Regions from separate parts of the Homo sapiens genome. Here region 2 is linked to region 1. Evidence: promoter capture Hi-C in human tissues and cell types (Jung and others, 2019). All regions are on one chromosome and are shown on one strand. The core of a region is centred on a gene start or on the middle of the fragment in contact, and the rest is flanking DNA. Distances in the headings are between cores, read along the strand shown.

Region 1 (5,418 bases), core at 1,834-4,333:
CCTTACCCAGCACTTTGGGAAGCCACGGGGGGCGGATCATGAGGTCAGGAGATGGAGACCATCCTGGCTAACACAGTGAACCCCCGTCTCTATTAAAAATAGAAAAAAATTAGCCGGGTGTGGTGACACGCGCCTGTAGTCCCAGGTCTACTCGGGAGGCTGAGGCAGAAGAATTGCTTGAACCCGGGAGGCGGAGGTTGCAGTGAGCCGAGATCACACCACTGCACTCCAGCCTGGGCAACAGAGCAAGACTCCATCTCAAAAGAAAAAAAAAAACGCCCTTACTTCCAAGGTCATCTTTCTTCTGATACTTGAGGTTGCCAGAATTCTGATTTCTGGATAATTTGCCTGTTACTATGCTAGGAAGAAAAAACAAAAAACAAATTTGAGGCTAGGGGAAGACTCCCAGCAAGATACAGTGTTTTAGCATTCTCTGTTTGTTACGCAAGTCAACTAACTTCATTTGACTGCCATGCAACATTACTGAATTACATTATATCCCTAAAAGATGCATCAGAGGGCAAGCCTTTATCCTTGTTTATCCTTCTGCCTGAGTGCTGTGTTTAAGATGTAACTTCTTTTACTAAAAAATTTAAGTCACTTAAATAAAAATACTTTTAAGTGTCCTCCCTCAATAAAGATTCCAATATAGTCTTTGAATATGGGTTCAAATTTCTAAGTTCAATGCCTAAAGTAAAATAGACAAAAAGACTAGAAAACAGCACTAAAAAGATGTCCTGGTCTCTATTCTAGTTGTGCTACTAGCTCTAAGAACCTGATAGATTACAAATTACATTTGGCTTCCTGATCTATGATTGCATGTGGGCACATTTCACACGCAATATTATCAGTTATTTCAGTTTGGGGCAGGGTTTCTCAATCTTAGAACTATGGACATTTTGGGCTGAATAATTTTTTGTTGTTTGGGGGTGAGGCAGTGCTTTGTTGGTTATTTAGTAGCATTCCTAGCCTCTACCTATTAGATGCCAGTAGCACCCTATACCCCCACCTCCATGTTGTGACAACCAAAAATGTCTTCACACATCGCTAAATGTTCCCTGAGGGGCAAAAATCTCCTGGCGGTCTGAGAAGGATCTAGATTTGCTGATTTGGATTCAGTTCTGCTTATGATTTAACCAACTGGTAGTTTTAGAATTCATGCTTGGGCTTGGTCTCTGATGAAAAGTAATTCACATTCTATACTCATCCTCAAAATCAACTATTGCACATTCCCACATAAATGCTGGCATTAGGAGACTATGCCAGAAAAGAAAAGTCCTTTTGTCTTCTGCTTCATCATCTAAAAGAAAGGTAAATTGATTTCCACGGGCATGGTGGCTCACGCCTGTAATCCCAGCACTTTGGGAGGCCAAGGCAGGAGGGTCACTTGAGCCCAGGAGTTGAGACCAGCCTGAGCAACATAGGGAGACCTCGTCTCTACAAATTTAAATAAATAAACGTGCGCGCGCGCGCACACACACACACACACACACACACACACACGGAAAGAGTGAACTCCAGCTAAGAATACCAGTCATGGTGTTAAAAAAACAATTCCCAAACTTTCCTGCACGCTGGAATCACCTAAAACATACTTGACAATTACTGATGCCTGGTTCCCACTGTGGCCTTGTGATAAAATGGGTAATGTGTGTGGATTTTTAGAAGCTGTCCAGGTGATTCCCAATGTTGCTGTACAATGAATTTTGGGAGCCACTATCTTAAACACTTACTGAATCACTTGTGGCATGATTTTTAAACCGAAATTCCTGTCCCTACCCTAGACTTCCTAACCAGAATCTCTGGGGTAGGGGATCCCTGGAACGTGTATTTAACGTTAAGCTCCATAGGTGATCCTAATGGCCAGCCAAAGCTGCAAATTATTAGCTAAGAACAAAGGAGAAATCTCTAAAATACGTGAAACTTGTCTTTGCCTGTGGTTCTCAAAACTTGCCCTCAAAATCAACTACAGGACTTAACTAAAATATAGAGTGCTGGTCCCACTCCCCTTCTTCTCCCCGCCCCACCCCCCCACCCCGTGTTTCTGACTCAGTCCTGGAGTCGGGCCCTAGAATTTGCACTTTTAACAGGTTCCCGGGTGATGCTGATGCTGCCGGTCCTGGGCGCCACACTCCCAGAACCGTTGCAATGTACTTAACAGTTTCCAGGTTAAGTACATTACAGTTATATATTAACAGGGGTGGGGCGAGAGAGCCTCAAAGGCCTAATTCATGCCTCTTTGTACGGAGGAACTGCTAATCCCAGTTTAAGCCCAAGAAACACGAGTAGTCCAATTTCCAGAGTTACCCTTGGCACATAAACCACATGTGGTTTGCAGAGTGAATGTATGAATAATACATTTTAAAAGCGTGTGTGCGCAGGAGGGTAAGGCAGACTGCTAGATACCCGGTTAGAGGCTGCGGACCTTTTTTTTTTTTTTTGGCGAGGTGCAGTTCATAGATCAGGGGTTTCACTCTGCAGCATGGTATAAGCACAATCACTAAGAACTGGATGCTACTTGCAGTTTTGTCACCAATTTCTTTGGTGACTTTGGGTGTTAAGTGACTGTTTTGAACCTCTCTCCTCTTAGGTAGATAATATCGGAAACCTCTTCCACCTACGACCCGCAGAGCGAGGGCTTGTCCCGGGATTTGTCTTGCACCCCCACCTCTCGCGTCTGCGCCACCCTGCGGGCGGCGCCGGCCCCTACCTGGCAATAGAGCCGATAAAGGGGTACGGCAGCGTAGGACGCCCCCAGCATGCCCACGGCGACAGCGGCCACGTAAGTGAGGGTCGTCTTGTTCTGCCGCCGCCGCTCCTCCTCCTGCGCGCGTGTGAAAGGGTTCGAGCTCTTAGGCCGCCGCGGCGGCTGCAATGCTGGATGCCGGGCTCGAAGGCTGCAGCGCTTCCATGTCCCAAGCCACCTCAGTCCTCTCTCGGCACCTCCTGTCCCACTCCACTCTGGCCTAAGAAACGGCTCTACCCTCTCTGCAGCCCTGGTTGGAGACCCAGGGTGGATCCAGCGCCAGCCACAGAAAGGAACGCACCTCCATCCAGGACGCCAGAGCCCTCCCATAACCCTCTGAACTAACACCCACCCGCCTCTCAGGGACGAGAGGTCAAATCTCGCGAGGCGTGCTCCGTCTCGCGAGATCTGGGTTGAGCCTGCCGCTGCCTTGGCTACCAGGCTCCTCAGGTGGCAGCGCTTGCAGTCGGGCTACGGAGGCCGGGTTGCCAGATTACGGGTAAGTTTGCGTTTTGCTTTGTGACTGTTACTCCCACTTCGCTTCTCGCCAGAACGTCTCTTAACATTTAGGAAAATGCGTTTCGCCCGTCCGCGTGCAAGCTTGCCATCACTTGGGGTTGCGCCTGTGATCTTTATTTAAACTCCACCAGCCTTTGTCTCGACCCGGCAGCCCCGGCGACGCTCTCCCGCGGTCTTTTCTCCTGGGGTCCCTTGGCCGCTGGCTCCTGTGCTCACTGCCCTGGACTTAGTTCAAGTATCACCTCTCTCAGGAAGCCTTGCTGTGTTAACCGCAGCCCTCATGGGCACCCACGACACCTGCATTTTCTCAGCCCGTGGGCAGTCGGCTTCCCCTGCTCTGATGCCCCTTACAACTTGCCCAGTGGAAAGCACCACAGCTGGAGCAGGAGGGAGGCTGTCACGCTGAAGTTTGTTCTGGAGAGAGTGACCAGGATAGGAGGGCCATTTAAGGAGAGACTGAAAGAAACGAACCCCGTGGGAGGATGTAATAGCTTTCTTCAGTTGTCCCACAGGACGAACTCGAGGGGGGCAGACAGCATAGCGGATTTTACTGTGTTAGAAGGAAGCATCTTTCTAGAAACTATAAAATAGCAGTTAAGAGCTCAGGTTCTGAGGTTAGGGGGTTCTGGATTTTTACCCGGGTCCTCACCATGGCCCTGTGCCCTTAGGTCAGTTACTTGTCCTCTAAGACCTGGTGTCCTTACTTGTAAAATGGAAATCAGAACAGTAAATGAATAATATTCATATAACGTCTTTCATGATGACTGAGGCATAGTAAGAATGTAGTTAAAAGTTAGGCTGTATTTCTACTTGCTACGTGGCCATTTCTAATGGCCAGAGCAGGTATAATTATCCCCACTATGTGGATGAGGAACTTGGAGGCCTGAGAAATTTTAACTAGTCATTCGACATTTTATTTATTTATTGCCCTCTCAACTGTGGGCCTGACACCAATCGACCTGCTGGCACTATAGCACAGAACAAGTCGGGAGATCACTTCAGTGATGGAGTGTCCTTTCTGCTGAGGGACTCAGAAAATAATCAAGTAACAGTTACCGAAATAAGGGAATTTCAGATAACAATCAGTGCAGTGAAGACAATGTAATAACATAGTATGATTGACAGTCATGAGAAGCGGTAGTAAAGTAAGGACGTTTTGAAGAGGTGACATTTGAGTTTAGATCTGAACGATGATAAGGAGCTACCTACTCAATAACAATTCCAGGCCAAGCAAAGGCCCAGGGGAAGGAAAGAGATAGAATGATTGAAGAACAGAAAGAAGGCCACTGTGTTCCCAACATAGCAGAGTGGAAAGTGGTAGGAAATGGGGTCAGAACAGGTAACAAAGGCCTGGTAATACCAGCCTTTTAAGCCATGTCCAAGGGTTTGGATTTTATTCTAAAAGTAATAGGAAGCTATTGGAATGTTTGACACATACAAGTGATGTGATCTGACTCACATTTTTGAAAAGATATTGATTACTTTGTGGAGAATGGATTAAAGGTAGGGGGAGGAATGGAAGTAGAACAATTAGGAAGCAATTGCAGTAGTCCACATGAGTGATGATGGTCACCTTGAGTGAGTAATTGATTAACTTGTGGTCACAGGGCCAGAAAATTGCAGAACCAATAAAATATAAATACCTTCTGACTTCTTTCTATACTCTGGCATACTGTCTCAAAAATTTCAGGTCTCCATGATTCTACAAATTTATTCATATTGTGTGATGACAGTGTTTGAAAATCTTTTTCATCTGCATGCACCTTGGTTCTTGTACCAGATTCTCAGCTCTTCTAGGATGAGATTTCTCAAAGTTTAATTTTCTTACAGCATAGACTGAAATCCTTGATACCAACAGTACATTTCCACTCACCATTCTGTTTCTCCAGGCACCCCTTCTTTGTAGCTCCAGGTAGCAGTATAAATATATGTCAGTATACAGTCTTTGTCTTGGACTCCAGTATTTCATTTTTTGTATAATAATTGCAAAATGAAACTCTTATGTACAGTGATATTGATAGCAATGAAGTGGTGTTGGTCTTTGTAGCTTTCTACTTTAATAAAAGAAAATATGCATTGTATCTGATCTTAGTATGATAATGTGAAATGACAGTTCATGTTTATGAAATACTTCTGAATGACAACTAAATATT
Region 2 (5,418 bases), core at 2,079-4,578, 190 kb after region 1:
TATTGTTACTGACACCAACCCAGATAACAGAGCCTCAGCGAGGAGTTTAATATAATGGTTAAATTCTCAGAAGTCAGATTTGGGTCTAGATCCCGGCTCTAACATGCACTAGTTTCATGACCTGGAATAAGTTATTTCACCTTTCTTAGTATCAGGTTCCTCATACAGAAAATAAGAATATAATTCTTTCTTGCCTTTAATTTATACTAAGGTCCTAAAAGACAGTTAATTCCATTTAGTCACAAGTCTAAGTTGGCACTATTAGAAACAATCAGTATTTAAAAGTTCATGAGAAAACTGTAGAGGTTGATGGCATGTTTTTATCCCATAATTTTCACCATAATTGAAGGCTTTTCTTTGTAACACTCACTGTCAAGTGGCTTTAGCATTTATACATGACGGAATCAATAATACTGACAAAATACTTCAAGACATTAGAGATGGTCTCATAAGGAGCCTCTCAAAGTCCCTTCCAACTTTGTGATTTTTACAAATCATTCTGTAGTATAATATATATGCTTATATTTAAAATTTGTAGTGTAGTCATTTTAACTCTGATAGATAAACATAACATTAGAATCATATAAATTAGTTGAAAAATATGTTTTAAATTTTAGTTTTTTAAGGTTTTAAATTTGTTAATTAAGAAGAATGTTTAGTCAGATGTTTATTAAACTTCTTTTGTTGATTAAATTAAGTGAACACCTGTATGGCTTGTAATACAATTCTATTTTAATAAGAACACTAAAAATTAAAGTAGCTTCTACATTTTATGCACTTCTACTCGCAGGGGGAATTTAACGTGGAAACGTTGACAGTGGTCTTATGAACTTGTTTCCAGTTAAATTTAGTATTCGTTAATCTGTATTCTGACAGTCTTGATTATTGATATTTAAAGTAGCATAAAAATATATAGCTATTACTTATTTTCTGTATTTTAGAAAGATAGGCTTTTAGTTTATAGAAGTTGTTCATATATTTATTGAGAAAGTAGTAGTCATGGCTTCCTCTTGAAATATTCTCGTCTTGCTTGACAGTGATCTAGAGTGACGCTATCTGAAATAACAAATCATCTGCTTTCAGTGACTTCATGCTCACAAATCAATGCAGGGATTCCTGGTTGATGGGTGTAGCTTTTCTTCAGGTAGTGATGTTGAGACCCAGGCTCCTCCCATCTCATGTCTCTGCCCTCCCTAATGGCCTCAGAGTCCTCTACATTCGGTTGGCGGATAATGAGTGAGAGTAGAGAAGGCACTCCAGCTTCTTAAAAACCCTGACCCACAAAAGATAAACATCAATTCTGTTACCTTCTATTGACAGGAACTAATCACATGCTCACATAAAGATATGAGGAGAGCTGGGAAATGTAGTCTCTGCCTAGGCAGCTGCCACCTGGCAGCAACTCTATGGTATGGAATGGAGAACATAAATTTTTGGTGGACACTGCCAACAGGTATATGAAAAAGTACAAATATACCAACTATACAATCCTATATAATTGTTTATTAGTATCTGATAATTCAGTGTATAGGTATCAGTGTCAGTAGGACATGTTCTTTGTTTTTTTCTGTTTTGTTTGTCCTATTATGATGAAAAACAGCATCAATTTTTAAGAGTTACCCAGGGCTGTACTCTGTCACTACAGAGTTGTTTCCTTCTTTGAAAAATTAATTATATTGGCTTTGTACCTGACATGTTTTAGCTCTATATAGCAATCCAGCCTGTGGATATTATTTGAAAAAATGTAATTAATATTTTCCATACTTGTTCCTCAGGAATTTTCTTTTCAGTGTTTATCTTTTAGAAGTCTAGTGACAACAATTTTTTTATACATAAGTAATATATTACAATAGCTTTAGATTCTTATAATATGATTTGATAGCTCAGACCTAAATATTTTTAATTAATTGGAATTTAAGATTTTAAAAGATAAATGATTTTTAACAGAAATTACCATAAATATATAATAAAAATAAAATTTGTCCTCTAGACTGTAAAGATTTGGATGAGATCCTGCTAATATTTGATCAGAGCCTCACTGGATTTCCAAATGCCTAATTACAAAATGCTCAAAGTGTTCTGTGATATTTACAAAGTTCACTAATGAGAAATATTTATTTTGATTTTAGCGGCATATTTCCAAAATTATGTAAGAGGATACTCCTTATATACCAGTGGGAACAAAATGCCTGCAATTTTCTCTTAAACATATTTTAGAATAGATACTTCCTATTACTAATCTGTAATTATTCTCATAACCAGTGTTTATATAAGATTATATGCTGCTTTATCATGGTTTGGTTACTTTTTAATAATCTCATTGACAAGGTTCACCTTGTGTTCCTACCTTCTCATTTGTTTTCAATTGGGATTAGTTTTTAAGTATAAATCTTTTATTGTCATTACTACTTGCAGTTTATGCCCAGTTGTAAAATTTTCCAGTGATTCAAAGTTACTGGTGCCTGAAACAAATTATATTAACATATAGTTACTTATTTGTCTTTGTTTTCTGTTTTATATAAATACTATATGCATACAATTATCACCCCCCCCCCAATAAAATGACACTGGAAGTTAATTACTTTTGGCTCTTTATTCCACAGCTTTATCTTAAACATGATAAAATAGTATATGCAAATTCACAATGATGTATAAATAGTGCCATCTATGATGGAAGATTAACAAAAGAATGTCTTTCATCATCACAGACGGTTATAAGAATGAATTTCTACAGAACAAGTGCCCTTTTTGTCATTAAATCCTTTTTGTTTAACAGGTTGTCCTAATTTTTATTTTGAAAGAAAACATTTTGCTCCTTTAGCTAGGAGGTAAGAAACATAAGGAGGGTAATTATAATGGGATTTAAATAATTCACTTACATTTCTATGCCAATAATATAAAGCATGTTCTCTTAGGTTTTTTAATAAGCTCTAAAATGTGTCTTTCAGTTTACTAATATTATTTTTTAAAACACACAATACTGTTATCTTCCCAAATCGAATATTATTGTTTTCCAACAACAGATTTGGCAACCATTCAGAGGCAAATAGTATTATGCTTTTGAGATTTTCAAATATATCTGAAGTGCTGTTGACTGCTCTCCAAATCAGGTCAGATGCACTGTCTCTTTAGGAGAATTTGCCAGAGGTACTGTTTGTTCAAATGGAAAATTTTCATGTTCCATAGTAAGCTTCATTTATTTTCCAAACCTCTAAATTTTTTATACTAAATTTTTTATAGCAACATCTCCCTTTATGAACCATGGGGTCTTTATTAATTAAACAATCAACAGGGCTGATTTATTCTCTTATCAGCTGAATTACCAAGCACACAAATCACAGAGGAAATGTTTTTAATACTAGAATGTTCTCCAAGCCAGTAAATCTGGGATTATCTCATCATACCGATTATGTCAAAGCTCTTTAGCCACAGTGCTCACTAGGACATAAAATTGAATGGTATACACACAAATGGCCCCCTTCCAGCATCATAGGAAGAATTCCAAATTTTTCTTACAATAATCAGAAATCCCTAATTATCAATAAAACTAGCTATGATTATTTATTGAATGTCTCCTCTCTGCCAGGCACTTCACATGCATTACCTGAGTTTCAGAAGCACTGTGTCCCATTGGTTCTGGACGTTTTAAACAAAGACCCAGGTCTGAAATGTGTGCTTGAAGCACAGAACACGTCTCTCTGTTGCTTTAGTTTTATTTCTTCTAGTGAGTAGCTGTTGTAATTGCATATTTGATGCTTAGGTGTGTGCGTGTGTGTTTTTAGGCATATACAAAAAATCATATTGTGAATATAAGATTAATCAAGTTATAAGGTTAATCAAATTTTATATTACTTTTGTATTTGGAGTAAGATCAGATGTGATTTGTTGATTAAAAAGTGCTTAATGAAGGTTACTGGCAAAGATGACCATCTGGTAGAACTTTCTGATATTCACCGTTCAGAGTCTATAACTACGTTTTTTTCTTAGACATTTTCCTTTTGATTATTTTAAATTAGCAATTTAATGGAATGTTCATATATGGACAGTTGTAATATGTCAAGCATGAGAATACTATTTATAAAAAGTCACATAGCAAAGCATACTACCTGAACTTACCCTCAGGTAATTGCTCCTGTTTTTCTTCCTTCCCATCTCCTCCAATTATGGAACTTCAAAGGAGAGGGAGGAATTTAAATGATTTAAATTATGGTTTCTTCTTTGGACTAATATGTGCTGATAAACATTAAAGTATTAAAATATATACCAATATTTTAAAATAAGCAAAGCTGTCTCATCAAGCTTTTCCATTTTAGTTTTAGACATGTACTTTGTACAGGGTGATGTGTCCTCATTTCACCTTGCAGTGGCATTCCAGCCCTCTCATGTTACACTCATTAGTATTTCTTTAAAACCACTTTCAAGTTAGGCAGCTCTCCAGCTTTATAAAGGCCTTGAAATGAAGTTAACCTGTGCCGAATCAAATACTTTAGTAAATTTAGCCTCCATAATAAGAAATTCCATTAAACCATTTTAAAGAGATATTAGTAATGTGGATTATCGTCAAGAGAATAATGATTCTTTGTACACTAAACCACACTCTGAGCTTTTGAAGCTGTGAAGATGCCTGGGCCTTGTCACTTTCACCTTGATTCTTAAAGAACTTGAACCCTTTTTATGCCATAATAAAACCGCTAGTAATCTTCTTCCATGAAAAGATACATTTTTAATATTTAAACAGAGGAGCTGAACAATTTGTGTAGGGGGAACATGAACAAAATGTATACTATAGGATTGAAAACAAACCAAACTAATAATAACAGTGGAACTTACCATTTGTACTACCTAACATTTTCAGTATTGTAATCAGTAGCCAATAAAGTGAATGCATTTTTGTGATAGTTCCCAAATTGTGTTCTATGGAACACTGGCCCTGTGTTTGTTAACGGAGATATGTTACTTTGAGTAATATTACATAGTCTTGGAGACTCATAGAGCACATTAGCATATTAAAATCTCTGGGAAATCTTATAGTAAAGAAACCTATTCAATTATGTCAAACTTATTTGACTGTAGAATTATATTCTTCACATAACATTGATTAATTGATTGATGATTGATTGAGACAGGGTCTTGTTCTGTCACCCAGGCTGGAATGTAGTGGATCATACCTCACTGCAGCCTCAAACTTCTGAGTTCAAGCAGTCCTCCCATATTAGCCTCCCAAGTCAGTAACTGGGATTACAGGCATGAGCCACTGTGCCAGGCTATTCTTCACATAACATTTATTTAAAACTCTCGGGAACATACTTTGGAAAATGTTACTTTATAATGTAGGAGGCACTTTCAGATCCACAATCTTAAGTAATCGTTGTAAGTACTGGCCTTCAGATGCACTTGATCTAAGACATGATGCTGCTT

Evidence for each region. Contacts are between HindIII fragments. The study calls those that stand out against the background at their distance.
Region 2: a contact is called between a fragment that was not itself captured here and the fragment with the promoter of COX11 in region 1, in 1 of the 25 tissues and cell types used here (mesenchymal stem cells).

Annotation. Positions count from the first base shown.
Region 1 is chr17:54,965,571-54,970,988 of GRCh38, forward strand. It overlaps COX11 (cytochrome c oxidase copper chaperone COX11), which reads right to left and starts at 3,084. Exons shown (of 4, transcript NM_004375.5): 1 at 2,711-3,084. The coding sequence starts at 3,076. STXBP4 (syntaxin binding protein 4) reads left to right here and starts at 3,195. Exons shown (of 18, transcript NM_178509.6): 1 at 3,195-3,245. RefSeq lists enhancers at 2,154-3,103, 2,953-3,012, 3,023-3,102, 3,104-4,052, 3,283-3,382 and 1 more. The HindIII fragment of the contact is 12,807 bases long and covers 1-5,014 here.
Region 2 is chr17:55,152,966-55,158,383 of GRCh38, forward strand. All of the region lies in intron 17 of STXBP4 (syntaxin binding protein 4), which reads left to right. Among named protein-coding and RNA genes, the nearest start is that of HLF, 110 kb to the right of the region's middle. The HindIII fragment of the contact is 4,308 bases long and covers 1,175-5,418 here.